2 separate regions of the Homo sapiens genome follow, and region 1 is linked to region 2. Evidence: promoter capture Hi-C in human tissues and cell types (Jung and others, 2019). All regions are on one chromosome and are shown on one strand. The core of a region is centred on a gene start or on the middle of the fragment in contact, and the rest is flanking DNA. Distances in the headings are between cores, read along the strand shown.

Region 1 (2,700 bases), core at 185-2,684, 35 kb before region 2:
AACTTGGCTTTCCAGATTATTTTCACATGAGAGGTTCAAAAAGTCTATTTTAACAGCTATAACCAAACTAGAACTTTTTATAGCCAGGGCCTACCCTCCACATAAAATATTAAAATTCTTATAGACCTCTGAGTTTTACACACACACACAGATATACATAGATACATAAACACATTTTGAGACATGGTCTCACTCTGTCACCCAGGCTGGAGTGCAATGGCACAATCTCGGCTTACTGCAGCCTTCGCCTCTCAAGTTCAAGTGATTCTCATGTCTCAGCCTCCCAAGTAGCTGGGATTACAGGTGCACGCCACCATGCCTGGCTAATTTTTTGTATTTTCAGTAGAGATGGGGTTTCACCATGTTGGCCAGGCTGGTCTTGAACTCCTGACCTCAAGTGATCCTCCCACCTTGGCCTCCCAAAGTGCTGGGATTAGAGTGTGAGCCACTGCGCCCGGCCATATCTGTTGGTTTGATGTGAGGGAAGCAGAAGGAACAAAGCATAGATTGATTTAGCAGGAAAATGCAACAATCATCAATTTCTGTCAGCGCCTGTGAAGTCCTTATTTAAAAAGTGGAAACAATTAGTGTCTTGCCAAAGCCACACAGCTAGTAAATGGCAAGCCTGGGAATTGAGCTCCCATCTATTGGGCTTAAAAATCTGGGCTCTGTCCATGACTCTACCCCAGCTTTGCAAGAGGGAGTTACTCCTAAGATGCAGCTTTCAGATGCTGACATTCCTGCTGACTTAGCGTAAGTAGCACGGTCAGGAGACATAAGATCACTTGGGAGCAGAGAAGCTGGGAAGGGGAAAAGGAAAACCCTAGGAAAGGGGTAGGGTGGGGAAGAGAAATGTGAAACGTACCTGGTGGATTCACGGGGCTGACGGGGAGGTGGGTTTAGGTACAAGCTTTAGGCTTTGGCATTAGATGGTCCTGGCTGACCATCTGCTAGGTGTGATGCTGCAGGCAAGCCACCCCGTCTCTTTGAATCTCTGGTTCTTCATCTGCAAACTGAGAACGATGGTAGCATTTACTTACAGTTTTAAATGAGATAGTGTGTGCATTTTCAAGATGAACTGCTAGCCTTTATATAGACAGAGGCAGAAGGTTTCCTTGGAGTAGAGTCTCTGTTCTAAGAAGTTAACTGAATGCTCTGCTTAACAATGCAGAGATCGTGAGTGTAGGAACCTATTACGTGTTTCCTGAGGCAGACTACTCTCCCCTGGGTAGAGACAGATTTTCATCCAGAGCAAGGGGCTTTCAGGAAAGGAAGGAATGAGACCCTGTCTTTTGTTTTGTTTTTGAGACGGAGTCTCATTCTGTCACCCAGGCTGGAGTGCAGTGGTGTGATCTTGGCTCACTGCAACCTCTGCCTCCCAGGTTCAAGCAATTCTCCTGCCTCAGCCTTCTGAGTAGCTGGGATTACAGGTGCCCACCACCATGCCTGGCTAATTTTTGTAGTTTTAGTGAGATAGGGTTTCACCATGTTGGCCAGGCTGGTCTCGGACTCCTGACCTTGGGTGATCTGCCCACCTTGGCCTCCTAAAGTGCTGGGATTACAGGTGTTAGCCACCATGCCCAATGAGATCCTGTCTTTTGCTCTCTGAGATTTGCAATTAAAGAAACCTATTTTTGTGGTTCAGGATGATCATATTGACCATGATTCATCTGCATAGAAGAATATTAGAAGCCCCTAAGGAATCCTACCATGAGGGAAAGGGGTACCTGTGTTGATGCTGTAGGCTCAGCACTGGGGTTTGCGTGGGAGTTTTGATTTGATGCAACATGCTGGGGCTGGAAGCTTCTCTGGATCCAACCATCCTAGACCACTGTGTTTTGGGGATCAAGAGCTGAGCATGTGAGAATGAACAAAGAGAACAATGACCTTGGAGCACAAGTAGGGAAGCTAACCTTGGCATGGCAGAAGTCAGACCTGCAGCAGCATCACTGCAGCAGTGGGCGGAAGACACAGGCCCACCAGATTATATGGGACCAACTGCATGGTAATGACCGAAAACAAGGATTAGTCAGATTTTTAATTTTCTCTCTTCACACATGGCTTTTTGGAAGCAGGAGTCCTTTTGACTGAGTTTTCCTGGGAAGTTCTTGGAAAATTTGGGATGGAGATGGGGTCTGGCATTGTGTGAGAGAGAATGAACTTCCTACTAATAAGACAGGTGAGGCCTTGAGCCATTAGTTGGATTAAAAAAAAGATGTGATTTAATTTTTATTTTCCAGGAGGTGAGACAGATTGTAGGAAATGGAGTAAATTAATGGCTGCCATAACAAACAACCCCTTGATCTCAATGGCCTATTCTCATACCCCAGTTTCATGTGGTTGGCAGCCACTCAAGAACCTAGGCTGGTAGGGGTTGTACGACCTTTAACCCAAACCTCTCAAGGTCACCCAAAGTGTCATTCAGCTGGTAGACAAAGAAGAGAAGGCCAAAGACAATGTGTGGGAGGTTTTTATGGCCAAGTTGGGAAGTGACATACAGTCGATTCTCTGTATTCATGGGTTCTGCATTCACAGATTCAACCAGTTGCAGATTGAAAATATTTGGAGAAAAAACCCATCAATAAAACCCACAAACATTTAAAATAAAAATAAAAGTATAGCAATATAATAATAAAACATAAAATAAAAGATACAATATAACAGCCATTTAGATAGCATTTGCACTGTATTAGGTATTAT
Region 2 (2,700 bases), core at 159-2,658:
ATGAGAGAAATTGGGGAGGAAAAAGTATTGAATATTTTCAAATGGAAGCACAAGTGGAAGAAGGAAAAGTAAGGTGAATAAGAGATACTTCAAAATAATTTTATTTTATTTAATATTTTTTGAGACGGAGTTTTGCTCTTGTCACCCAGGCTGGAGTGCAATGGTGAGATCTTGGCTCACTGCAACCTCCACCTCCCGGGTTCAAGTGATTATCCTGTCTCAGCCTCCTGAGTAGGTGGGATTACAGGTGCCCACCAGCATGCCCGGTTAATTTTTGTATTTTTAGTAGAGATGGGGTTTCACCATGTTGGCCAGGCCGATCTTGAACTCCTGACCTCAGTTGATCCACCCACCTCGGCCTCCTAAAGTGCTGGGATTACAGGCCTGAGCCACTGCTCCCGGCCCGAGATACTTCAACATAGTTTTGAAAGCAGAGAAAATCTTGAAGTTTTTCTCTCCTTCTTTTCATAAATGTGTTGTTTAATCATTTGAAGTTACAAGCCTCTTCAGGCTAGAACCATGTTCCATTCTCCTTTCCTATGTCCTGAGTTGCCTAGGCCTGTGGTAGGTACTTAATAAAATCTTTGGTTTAAAGAGTTATTTTAAAAGAAATCCTGCACCTTCTGCTGACAAAAATGTTTGCTAATGGCAAGCAAACTGGAAGACAGAAACAAGCAAAGTGGTGTTGTCCATATGTTATATTCAAACTATTGTTTGATAGGGAGCTATTCTCCAAACAACTTCTGGATGTTCACTTAGCTCTCAGCTGCCAACATTTTCTCAAAATGGTTGTAAAATTCATGAAGCTATAGGACTGGGCAAAAACCATAGGGTCTGAAAGAATTCAGAAACTTACATAGTTCATGTAATGAAAACATCAAAGATATTCCCTAAAATGGAGATGTTTCACTTAGATTGGCATTTCTGGGGAGTAAATAAATGGAGGAAACAAAAGAGTCAGGAGCAGAAGGTCACTATACAATCTCTAACACAAAGACATGACCAGAGAAAATGGAGAATAGGAGAAATGTTAGTAATTAATATAAATGGTTTTCATGCTGAAAGCGGTAATTTTTTTTACTTAAAGTAATGTATGAGTTGGAATAATATGACCTGGGAGGCTTGGCTAATTCACAAATTCTCTGAGCCTCAGTTTTCTTACTTGTTATATGGGGATCATAGAGTTTTTGTGGGGCTGCTTGACCAGTGTCTTGCATAGGGTAGGCTATTGAGCACCAAATGAATAAACATTGACTATATAAATAAATAAACAAATGAGTCAGAAAATATGCATAAAAGGGTTTTATTAACAAGCAAGTGCTAAATAAACATGAAGGATTAGCGTTATGATTGCATGTGCTTTGTCACAGGGCTCTTCTCTGAGATCTGTCTTCTCTGAGTGGAATCCATGGCCAGTACAAGTAATGTGACTGAGTTGATTTTCACTGGCCTTTTCCAGGATCCAGCTGTGCAGAGTGTATGCTTTGTGGTGTTTCTCCCCGTGTACCTTGCCACGGTGGTGGGCAATGGCCTCATCGTTCTGACGGTCAGTATCAGCAAGAGTCTGGATTCTCCCATGTACTTCTTCCTTAGCTGCCTGTCCTTGGTGGAGATCAGTTATTCCTCCACTATCGCCCCTAAATTCATCATAGACTTACTTGCCAAGATTAAAACCATCTCTCTGGAAGGCTGTCTGACTCAGATATTCTTCTTCCACTTCTTTGGGGTTGCTGAGATCCTTTTGATTGTGGTGATGGCCTATGATTGCTACGTGGCCATTTGCAAGCCTCTTCATTATATGAACATTATCAGTCGTCAACTGTGTCACCTTCTGGTGGCTGGTTCCTGGCTGGGGGGCTTTTGTCACTCCATAATTCAGATTCTCGTTATCATCCAATTGCCCTTCTGTGGTCCCAATGTGATTGACCACTATTTCTGTGACCTCCAGCCTTTATTCAAGCTTGCCTGCACTGACACCTTCATGGAGGGGGTTATTGTGTTGGCCAACAGTGGATTATTCTCTGTCTTCTCCTTCCTCATCTTGGTGTCCTCTTATATTGTCATTCTGGTCAACTTGAGGAACCATTCTGCAGAGGGGAGGCACAAAGCCCTCTCCACCTGTGCTTCTCACATCACAGTGGTCATCTTGTTTTTTGGACCTGCTATCTTCCTCTACATGCGACCTTCTTCCACTTTCACTGAAGATAAACTTGTGGCTGTATTCTACACGGTCATCACCCCCATGCTGAACCCCATCATTTACACACTCAGGAATGCAGAGGTGAAAATCGCCATAAGAAGATTGTGGAGCAAAAAGGAGAATCCAGGGAGGGAGTGAAAAAAGAGCTTAGGGATGAAAAAGTGATACAAAATGTATGTCTGATTACTCTCTGTTCTTGAAATGGATTTTGATTTTAGTGGGATATTCAAGAATGACAGAAACAAATATAAAGGCTTAATGATACTGCTGCTGTGATTCTGCTTAGTAGCCAAAGACACTTGGTATGCTGGTGTAATGTTTGAAGGACAGAGGTCAGATAGTCTCGCAGAGTCTTAGAGAACTTGATTGGCTTCATGATATCCAACAATATCATGGGCTTGGGTAATATGAAGCCTCAAACCAAGTGCAAATGCAAAGGAGAACATGTTGATAAATGTTTTTTAGATTAAGTCACTTCTTCCTGTTACCTCCTCCCTTCC

The links. The method cuts DNA at HindIII sites, captures the fragments that hold promoters and counts their contacts. A contact is called where the count stands out against the background at its distance.
Region 1: a contact is called between a fragment that was not itself captured here and the fragment with the promoter of OR4B1 in region 2, in 1 of the 25 tissues and cell types used here (spleen).

What each region holds. Positions count from the first base shown.
Region 1 is chr11:48,180,095-48,182,794 of GRCh38, forward strand. No RefSeq gene overlaps it. Among named protein-coding and RNA genes, the nearest start is that of OR4B1, 35 kb to the right of the region's middle. The HindIII fragment of the contact is 3,592 bases long and covers 1-2,700 here.
Region 2 is chr11:48,215,402-48,218,101 of GRCh38, forward strand. It overlaps OR4B1 (olfactory receptor family 4 subfamily B member 1), which reads left to right and starts at 1,409. Exons shown (of 1, transcript NM_001005470.1): 1 at 1,409-2,338. The coding sequence starts at 1,409. The coding sequence ends at 2,338. The HindIII fragment of the contact is 4,187 bases long and covers 1-2,700 here.